Linked DNA regions of Homo sapiens: region 1 is linked to region 2. Evidence: promoter capture Hi-C in 16 types of primary human blood cells and fetal thymus (Javierre and others, 2016). All regions are on one chromosome and are shown on one strand. The core of a region is centred on a gene start or on the middle of the fragment in contact, and the rest is flanking DNA. Distances in the headings are between cores, read along the strand shown. Region 1 overlaps ATP8A1 (ATPase phospholipid transporting 8A1). Region 2 holds the start of DCAF4L1 (DDB1 and CUL4 associated factor 4 like 1).

Evidence for each region. Contacts are between HindIII fragments. The CHiCAGO score rates a contact against its expected background, and 5 or more counts as called.
Region 1: a fragment that was not itself captured here is called in contact with the fragment with the promoter of DCAF4L1 in region 2 in 1 of 17 cell types (total B cells); the score reaches 5.6 in total B cells.

What each region holds. Positions count from the first base shown.
Region 1 is chr4:42,526,533-42,532,115 of GRCh38, reverse strand. All of the region lies in intron 20 of ATP8A1 (ATPase phospholipid transporting 8A1), which reads left to right. Among named protein-coding and RNA genes, the nearest start is that of ATP8A1, 130 kb to the left of the region's middle. The HindIII fragment of the contact is 7,276 bases long and covers 632-5,583 here.
Region 2 is chr4:41,980,146-41,985,456 of GRCh38, reverse strand. DCAF4L1 (DDB1 and CUL4 associated factor 4 like 1) reads right to left here and starts at 3,701. Exons shown (of 1, transcript NM_001029955.4): 1 at 1-3,701. The coding sequence starts at 3,664. The coding sequence ends at 2,474. RefSeq lists enhancers at 2,439-3,211, 2,771-3,970. The HindIII fragment of the contact is 3,961 bases long and covers 1,312-5,272 here.

The sequences.
Region 1 (5,583 bases), core at 3,020-5,519, 550 kb before region 2:
GTGTGTATTTTTTTGAGGCAGGGTCTCACTCTGCTGCCCAGGCTGGAGTGCAGTGGTATGATCATGGCTCACTGCAGCCTTGACTTCCTGTGCTCACATGATCCTTCCACCTCATACTCCCGAGTAACTGGGACTGCAAGCACGCACCACCACACCTGGCTAACTTTTTTGTGTTTTTTGTAGAGGTGGGGTTTCACCTTGTTGCTCAGGCAGGTCTTGAATGCCTACCTCAGCCTCCCAAACTGCTAGGATTACAGGTGTGAGCCACCGCACCTGGCCCTGGTATTTTATGTTTTTTATGACTGTTGTAAATGGGATTGGCTTTTTTCTTTCTCATCTAGATATTGTTGGTATATAGAAGTGCTACTGATTTTTGTACATTGATTTTGTATCCTGCAACTTGACTGAATTCATTTATTAAAATTTAAGTTTTTTGTTAGAGTCTTCAGTTTTTTGCAGATATAAGATATGTCATCAGCAAAGAGGAACAATTTGACTTCCTCTTTTCCAATTTGTATTCCTTTTATTTTTTTCTCTTGTTGATTGCTCTGGCCTTGACTTCCAGTACTATTTTGAATAGCTGTGAAGAAAGAGGGCTTCCTCATCTTGTTCCAGTTCTTGGAGGAAAGCTTTCAGCTTTTCCCTTTTCAATATGATGTTAGCTGGGGAATTGGTGAGGAAATACTCATGACAGTTACAGTCTTTGTTTCTGCAGCTGGTCATGTAGTCGTAACTGGTATTGTTGACTGCCCTCTTCTGCTACCCATTCTGTTTTCCCTTTGCCTTCAGCAAGCACCTCAGCAGGTTGTGGTTTTTTTCCTGGTGGAGTGACCCAAACCTTCATTCCTGAAGGGTCTGGACCATTTGTAGTCCTGCCTGGATTGGGCTGTTGTAGTTTCCCATTGACCTTAATCACAGGGCATGGTAATACTAAGAGTCGCCCTAATGGATTCGCTGTATTCCGTACATACTCTTCCCTACCTCTGTTATGGAGCAGTAGACTGATTTCATCTTGGTAGTCTGGGTCAGTCACCCCAGCCAACACTGTAACTCCCTTAGCCTGTTGACTTAAAGGTAGGAGGAGCCCAAAGTGTCCAGGTGGCAATCTTAACTTCCAGTTTAATTGAATCATTGTTGTGTCTCCTGATAACAGTGTTCCTCCCTCTGGAACTAAGACCTCTAGGCCAGCAGAACATAATGTCGCAGGAACAGGAAGCAAAAATGTTGCTAGTGGATCACTAGGAGTGATGGTGAGTGGTGCCACTTCCACTTCCACCCCTTGATTCCTGGACCCCTGAATCCTGGCTATGGGAGAAACAGTACCATATATTGGATGCTGATTCAGAGCATACACGGCCTTCTGGAGAACTTTGCTCCGGCCCTGCAAAGTGTTGTCACCTAGTTGGCACTGTAATTGTAACTCAAAAGGCCATTCCACCCTTCTATCAATCTAGCTGCTTCAGGATGATGGGAACATGGTAAGACCAGTGAGTTCCATGGTAAGACCAGTGAGCCCACTGCCACACGTCTTTAGCCATAAAGTGAGTGCCTTGGCCAGAGGCAGTGCTGTGTGGAATACTGTGACAGTGGATGCATGAGCCCACTGCCACACTTCTTTAGTAAGTGCCTTGGTCAGAGGCAGTACTGTGTGGAAGATCTTGAGTCCACAGATGGTAGTCTTGGCAGAAGCACTGCGTGCAGGATAGGCAAACCCATATCCAGAGTAAGTGTCTGTTCCAGTGAGGATAAACCTCTGCCCTTTTCATGATGCAAAAATCTGCCACCAGGTGGCTGGCTGATCACCCCAAGGAATGGTGCCATATCAAGGGCTCAGTGCTGGTCTCTGCGGCTGGCAAATTGGGCACTCAGCAGTGGCCATAGCCAGGTCATCCTTGGTGAGTAGAAGTCCATGTTGCTGAGCCCATGCGTAACCTCCATCCTTGCCACCATGGCCACTTTGTTCATGGGCCCATTGGGTAATGACAGGGGTGGCTGGGGAAAGAGGCTGAGTGGTGTCCACAGAACAGTTCATCCTATCCACTTGATTATTAAACTCCTCCTCTGCTGAGATTACCCGTTGGTGAGCACTCACATGGGATACAAATATCTTCACGGTTTTTGACCACTCAGAGGTCCATCCACATACTTCTTCCCCAGATTTCTTTGTCACCAATTTTCCAGTCATGCTTCTTCCAAGTCCCTGACCATCCAGCCAAACCATTGGCTACAGCCCATGAATCAGTATATAATCACACATCTGGCCATTTCTCTTTCCATGCAAAGTGCACAACCAGCTGCACTGCTTGAAGTGCTGCCCACCGGGAAGATTTCACCTCACCACTGTCCCTCAGGGATGTCCTAGAAAGGGGCTGTCGTGCTTCAGCTGTCTACTTTCGGGTAGTGCCTGCATATCGTGCAGAACCATCTGTGAACCAGGCCCTAGTCTTCTCTTCCTCTGTCAACTGGATCATAGGGAACTCCCCATGAGGCCATCGGTGCAGGCTGGGGAAGAGAAGGCACAGTGGTAGGAGTGGAGACCATGGGCATTTGAGGCACTTCCTCACATAACTTACTTGTGCCTTCAGGACCTGCTCAAGCCTGATCACGTATATACCACTTCAATTTGATGATGCAGTGCTGCTGGTGCATGACCCACTTGATGGCTAGATGGGTCAGAAAGTACCCAGTTCATGATACGCAGTTCAGGTCGCATCGTGACTTGATGACCCATGGTCAAATGTTCAGTTTCCACCAAAGCCCAGTAACAAGCCAAGAGCTGTCTCTCAAAAGGAGAGTAGTTACCTGCAGATTATGGCAGGGCCTTGCTCCAAAATCCTAGATGCCTCCACTGTGATTCACCTATGGGGGCCTGCCAAAGGCTCCAAACAGCATCCCCGTCTGCCACTGACACCTCAAATACCATTGAATCTGCTAGGTCATATGGACCAAGTGGCAGAGCAGCTTGTACAGCAGCCTGGACCTGTGTCCGTTCTGGACCCCACTCAAAACTGGGGTCCAGTGGCCTTTAGGGTCACTTGATAAATGGGCCAGAGTAACACACCTAGATAAGGAATGTGATGCCTCCAAAATCCACATAAGCCCACTAGGCATTGTGCCTCTCATTGTAGGAGGGGCCAAATGCAACAACTTATCCTTCACCTTAGAAGGAATATCTCAACAGCCCCCACACCACTGGACCCCTAGAAATTTTACTGGGGTAGAAGGTCCCTTAATTTTAGTCAGGTTTATTTCCCATCCTCTGGCACACAAATATCTCACCAATAAGTCCAGTGTGTTTGCTACTTCTTGCTCACTGGATCCAATCAGCATAATGTCATCAGTGTGATGGACCAGTGTGATATCTTGTGGAAGTGAAAAGCAATCAAGGTCTCACTGAATAAGATCATGACACAAAGCAGGAGAGTTGATATGCCCCTGGGGTAGGACAGTAAAGGTATGTTGAAGGCAAATTGCTTGGTGGGCCTTATAGGCAGGAGTGGAGAAAAAGGAATTTGCCAAGTCGGTGGTTGCATACCAGATACCAGGAGATGTGTTAATATGCTCAAGCAATGAAACCACATCTGGTACAGCAGCTACAATTGGAGTCACCACTTGGTTAAACTTCTGATAATCCACTGTCATTCCCCAAGATCCATGTGTCTTCTGCACAGGCCAGATGGGAGAGTTGAATGGGGATGTGGTGGGAATCACCACCCCTGCGTCTTTCAAGTCCTTGATGGTGGCACTAATCTCTGTAATCCCTCCAGGGATGTGATATTGTTTTTGATTTACTATTTTTCTAGGGAGAGGCAGCTCTCATGGCTTCCATTTGGCCTTTCCCACCGTAATAGCCCTCACCCTACCAGTCAGGGAGCCAATGTGGGGATCCTGCCAGTTGCTAAGTATGTCTATGCCAATTATGCATTCTGGCATCAGGGAAATGACCACAGGATGAGCCCGGAGACCCACTGGACCCACTGCAAGTCAGACCTGAGCTAAAACTCCATTAATTACCTGACCACCATAAACCCCTATTTTAACTGGAGGACCACAATGACATTTTGGGTCCCCTGGAATCATCACCAGCTCAGAGCCAGTGTCCAGTAGTCCCCAAAATGTCTGATCATTTCCCTTTCCCCAGTGCAAAGTTACCCTGGTAAAAGGCCAGAGGTCTCTCTGGGGAAGGATGGGAGAAGGATTAACAGCATAAATTGTCGGTTATGTAGTGGAGTCCTTCCTCTAGGGTACCCAGCCTCCCCTTCATTCAAGGGGTTCTGGGTCTATAAACTGGCTCAAGTTTGGAAATTGATTGAGGGACTGTGATTCTCTGTTTTTGTAACTCAAAATTAGTCTTTTATCCATTCGACCTAGAAGTTTTCTGCTTATATAAATTTGAAAACTCAGGCAATTCCTTTTGAGTGTAGTGCATCTCCTCATGAGTCACACTCTCATCCTCACGTCTAGGGACTCGCTGGGACTTTAGTCTAGTTATAGGTCTAGAAGCAAACAGGGGTGTTGGGGGTGGGTCCAGAAGAGAATCAACATCATCTTGCCTGGCAACTGCTTCAGGGGAGGCCATCGTTGTTACCTCAGGCAGCACAGGCTTTATCTCCTCAGACAAAAGTGGAAAGGCTGATGGCAACATGGTTCAGAGAGGGGAAGTTGCCCCTACTGGGGATGGGGAAGCTGTTACTTCTGGCAAAAAAGGTTCATCAGAGTTTACAAACTCAGTGTCCCCAGCTTCATCAGGGTCCTCCCACACGTCCCCATTCCAAGTTGCGGGGTCCCATTCTTTTCCAATCAATGTCCTCCCTTTAACAGTAGACACCTGTTGAGGCTACGCATGCACCTTTCCTTGCGGGTCAGCCATTCGCATGATAACAGCTTGTGTCTGTTTTTCCACAATTTCAGCTCTTTCCCTGCAGGAGATAAGACTCTCACTCAGGGCAGTCTTAGCAGATTTGAGACTCAGTATCTGCTTCTGAAGCCAGGAGATAGAATCCCTGAGTTCATCATTTTCTTTCATTACTTTGTCCACTGAACTTAGGAGCAACCAACCAGCTTCATTATGTTCCTTGGTTCTCCACATATGGCCAAAGGTATTATGTATAGAGTCACTAAACTCATTGTCTGTCATGAAAGAAGAATCAGGAATGTCAAATGCATTTATTTTACATAACTCTCCAGTTTATGCCAAGGACTATCAGTGTTCTCCATACTACAGGTAGAGTCCTTAGCATTTTGGGGTCTAATCATATTAAGCAGCCACCTCCAGAAACCCCAAAACCAATGAAAGAACTCCATCTTAATATTCTGTTCCTCTAGAGCCACTCTTGGTACCAAAATCTGTATTAGTCAGGGTTCTCTAGAGGGACAGAATTAATAGAATAAATACATATATATAAAGGGGAGTTTCTTAAGCATTAACTCACACAATCACAAGGTCCCACAATAGGCCATGGGACCTGCAGGCTGAGGAGCAAGGAGAGCCAGTCTGAGTTCCAAAACTGAAGAACTTGGAGTCCGATGTTCAAGGACAGGAAGCATCCAGCACGGGAGAGGCTAGGCCAGTCTTGCCATTTC
Region 2 (5,311 bases), core at 2,452-4,951:
ACTGCACCAACATTTGCTTCTCTTTTAATTCCCAACGTCACTCCACCTGATCTATTTTATTTTAACCATTATAGTGAAAGTGGTGTGGCATTGTGGTTTTAATTTGCATTTCCTTGACAATAAAAGAAGTTGGATGCCTTTTCAAATGTATATTAGCCATTTGGATCTCCTCTTTTTCTCCTATTCAAGACTATTGCCTCCCTTTCTTTTAGGTGTGTTTTTCTTACTGATTTTTTTTTTGCATTTGTTTTCTTTGCAAATGAGGATAAACAGTTTATCAAGTTATGTAGTCATTTTTTGTCAATTGCCAAATAAATGACATATCAGTATCAGACATATATATATATACATATATATGTCTGCAGCTAGTTCTTACTGAATGATTGCAATGTCTTTTCTTCATTAATTGTTTTGTTTTATTTTGAATGCTTACAATGTAAAAGGGACAAGATACATATCCTTTAACCCTGTATCTACTTTATCATTTAGTTTTATTATCTAAGACATTTTACACTGAAGAAACAACAGCAAGTAAAGCTTACACAATTTCTCATGTCACATATCAAGTTAGTATAAAAAACTGACTGAAAGGATTCCAAAAATCTGTGCCTAACCATACTCCCATATCTTCTCTATTGATCTACTCATCTTCTATCAATATGTAATTACATTAACCTCATCTATGTCATATAAAGCACATCTATCCCATCTATTTTAATTCTATGTATTGAAGTCACCAAATTTGTATTACCAGCCATGACATGACCCCTGATCTGCAGAATACTTTGTATCTCCAATTGGAGGTTTAGTAGATGTCTAAAACTCAGCATCATTCCCTTCACCTAAAGTTTTTTCTCCTCATCCTCCCCAGGTTAGTAAACGACACCATCATCTACCAGTTCTAAAGTTAACAAAAAAGCTGCCATCCTCAGAGCTTGCAGTGAGCCGAGATCGCGCCACTGCACTCCAGCCTGGGCGACAGAAGGAGACTCCGTCTCAAAAAAAAAAAAAAAAAAGCTGCCATCCTTTTTTCTTTCACTTTCTAGTTTACTCTCATCAGCAAGCCTTATCAATAATACTACCTTCGAATGATCTTCCAATGCAATCATTTCTGATCATTTCTACTTCTCACACATGCAGGTCCAAGGCATCATTGTCCCTTGCCTAACTACAATAGTGTCCTAATTGCTTATTTTTATTTTTTGAGGAATAACATATATACAGTAAACTATAAAAACGTGAAGCATATAGATATATGAATTACGTATGTATCAAGTGTCAAGATAAAGAAAACTCAGCATTCCTAAAGCTTCCCCATGTCACTTCTCAAACATCCTAAAAAGAAAAAGAAAAAAAAATCCTTTCTTTCTACAGAGGTACGTACTACTCTACCTTTAATCACCATAGACAAGTTTTTACTGCTTTTGAACTTTAGAATTGAATCATACAGTTTGTACTCATTTCTACCTAATTTCAGTCAACATGTTGAGATTGGTCCATACTGTTTCACATAGCAAGTGTGCCTTATTTTCTATTATTATGCAGTATCCGATTGTATGATTATATCACGAATTTTAGCATTTTCGAAATTCAGATCATTTCCAGGCTTTGGCTATTAAGAAGTAGCAACTAACCTTATTACACGTTTTTTTTCTTCCTTGCTTAGTAGAAAAACAGGCTCTTTAACATTTTTAATAAATCTCTCACAAACTGCTGCTCCTAGATTACAAAAAGTCAAAGCCAATTCCTTGAATCTGAACTTCAAGTCACCATAATAGAAACCGGAGCTGCTGTACCTTACATTCTGAAAGGTACCTCAACAAAAGCACATCAAGGACTGTTTAAAACTTCTAGTATTTAAAAAGATCCATCTTTCCTTCCAATGCCTATGGATGATAACAATAAAAGGAGAACCTTAAGAGATCTGCTATTGAGTTTGAGAAGGCCAAATTTAATGATTCCAAACTCCAGCCTTAAATATTTCTGTAGAGACTCTGAGAAATTACCTCTCCCTTGTCTCCACTCCCACTGGCTTCCTCAAGCGCAGATGCCTGGGACCCTGTATGATTAGTCAAACAGTCTTACCAGTACCATCATTATGCTTCTCTAAAGGGCTACTAGTGAAAGAAGCTGCTTTAATTTATTTTAGTTTTTGCCAATCTTCAGTCCTTAGAAAAGTCTTAATTATTTAAAAAAAAAAAGGGTTGGGGAGGTGGTTAACTGTTCTAAGGCATTCAACAAGAGGAAACAGGTACCTTTTATGAAAAGGACTTTCAAGTTAAGTCCACAGTTTAACTGAAATAACTTTACAAGAACGTCTCCACATAAAACTCTTAACACCTTACCCCTGGCAGCCGGATGGATGCGATCTATATACAACACGTCTCTTAAAATGCTCTCACAGAAACGGTAATAAGATACTCTTAACTTCCTTAAGTCAAATCCACATTCGGCCGCGCTGCCACCTGCAGAATTAGCTGAAGGGGAAACAATAAAGGTCCTGCCGGACAGCCATGAGCAGCCCTGGTGCTGCTCCCCGGATGCCCCCGAGCCGAGAAGCGAAGGCCACGCTGGGAATGTCGTCCTCGGAGGCAGAGTACGGGGAAGGGATGGTTCTGAGCAGGTGGGCATCATGGAGGCTCCAGATTCTCGTGTAGCAGTCCTGGCCCACTGCCACCACGATTCCCTCTTCCTCGTGCACATGCAGGGGCAGATAGGCGGACTCATTCACGTGACCTTCGTACTGCCTTACACATTTAGTGGCCCTCAGATCCCACAGCTTGATCTTTCCAGTCATGTCTGATGCCATCAGGCATTGCTCTTCTTGGAGGATTTGCACAGAGGTCACTGCTGAGTCATGGAACAGGCGAGTGGCCCTCCACCCCTTGCCTCGATTTCTACAACGCAGATCAATGGCAAAGATCTCCCCGGAGCGACAGCCATTAAACAGCAAAGGAGCCGTACTAGCAAACTGCTGGGCCAAGACATCACTGCTGGTATCAAATGACTGCTGGTGTCCCGTCGCCACGCTGGTCAACAGGACCTGCTGAGACAAGCCTGCACTAAAGCAGTGATATGCCCGGGTGTTGAGGGACCACGCACAGGACCAGGCCTCTGGGATCTGGAAACTGCAGAGCATGCCAGGCTGGTTAACTCTTGTGTGAACACTTAAGAACCGCGACGCTGGGAGCAGCACTGCACAGCTTGGAGCATCTGTGATTCCCTCGAAGCACAGCAGAACGTGAGAGTCCAACTGGTTCAGCGAGGCCCAGCACAGGGACTTCACCTTCCGGTTGGGGACGTAGAGGTTTCTGAGCACGTACACGTGGAACGAAGGGATCTTCAGAGTTCGCAGGCTGATGATGCCGTACTTGGAGCCTTCGACTTCGACCTGGTTCACTACGAAGAGCTGGTCGCTGTTGGTACTCGCCAGAATGAAGTTAAATCGGTCGCTCGCCAAAGAGGAGGGATCCAAGCTCCGAATTTGGACCTTTTTCCGCTCCATGCAGCTCACACGCAGCTCGTTGGCTAAACGGGAGTAACTGGTGACGTTGAGGAAACCTAGCTGGCTTTTTCGGAGCATGGAAGATGCATTAAATCCCATTCTGGCTACCTTTTTCAGCTTGGCCTCTTCCTCGAGGAGTCGCAGCCTTTCAGCCTCCATTTCCTCCTGCGGAATGTTCCTCGTGACAGGAAATTCTGCAGGATGTTCTTCTCCGTGACAGGATGTTCTTTTCCGTGACAGGAAGTTCCGTCCGGGTGCAAGCGGAAGTGTTGCTACTTTTTATCCTCTCTATTCTAGGAGGAAGTCCATTGTTACAGATGTGTATTACAAATCTCTTTTCCTACTCTGTGGGTTGTCGTATTCTCTCAGTGGTGTCTTGATGAAAGGAAGTTCTTGATGTTAAATTTTTTCCTTTCTCTTTTTGAGACAGGGTCTTGCTCTTTCACCCAGGCTGGAGTCCAGTGGCACGACCACGGCTCACTGCAGCCTGGAACTCCTGGGCTCAAGTGATTCTCCTACCTCTGCCCTACTTAGCTGGGACTATGGGCTCACAACACCATGCCAGGCTACTTTTTTTGTAAAGATGGGGTCTCCCTGCTTTGCCGATGCTAGTCTGGAACTCTTGAGCTCAAGCAGCCTGTCCGCCTCAGCCTCCCAAAGTGCTGGGATTACAAGCATGAGCCCACGCGCCCTGCCTGTATTTCTTATTTTTTTATTTTTTATTTTAAGACGGAGTCTCGCTCTGTCGGCCAGGCTGGAGTACAGTGGCGCGATCTCGGTTCACTGCAAGCTCTGCCTCCCACGTTCACGCCATTCTCCTGCCTCAGCCTCCCAAGTGGCTGGGACTACAGGCGCCCGCCACCACGCCTGGCTAATTTTTTTTGTATTTTTAGTAGAGACAGGGTTTCACCGTGTTAGCCAGATGGTCTCGATCTGCTGACCTCATGATCGGCCCGCCTCAGCCTCCTAAAGTTCCGGGATTACAAGCGTGAGCCACTGCGCCCGGCCGCCTGTATTTTTAAAATACAGTTAGAGACCAGCCTGGGCGGCATGGTGAAACTTTGTCTCTAAAAAAATACAAAGATTAGGCCGGGCGCAGTGGCTCACGCCTGTAATCCCAGCACTTTGGGAGGCGCAGGCAGGCGGATCACGAGGTCAAGAGATTGAGACCATCCCGGCTAACACGGTGAAACCCCGTCTCTACCAACAATTAAAAAAATTAGCCGGGCATCGTGGCGGGCGCCTGTAGACCCAGCTACTCTGGAGGCTGAGGCAAGAGAATGGCGTGAACCCGGGAGGCGGAGCTTGCAGTGAGCCGAGATCGCGCCACTGCATTCTAGCCTGGGCAACAGAGCAAGACTCTGTCTCAAAAAATAAATAAATAAATAAAATACAAAAATTAGCGGGGTATGGTGCACACCTGTAGACCCAGCTACTCAGGAGACTGGGAGGGAAAATCACTTGAGCCTAGGAGTCTTGGAGGGAAAATCACCTGAGCCCTGAAAGTTGAGGCTGCAGTGATCACCCCACTGCACTCCAGCCCAGCTGGGAGACAGAATAAGACCCTGTCTCAAAAAGAAAGAAAAATAAGTAAATAAATTATGAATTTATCCAAATTGTCCATTTGTTTCATTAATGGTTAGTGTCTTTCATGTTCTGTTCAGGACATTAGTACCTATTACATGATACTAGTAAAGTTTTGGGGTGTCTTCAAGAGGAGGCTGATATCTCCAGTCCCCATCTGGATGTTTCCTTTGCCACAAAGCTTGCTGACTCCCCTTACGCTATGAATTTCCAGGAATTTTG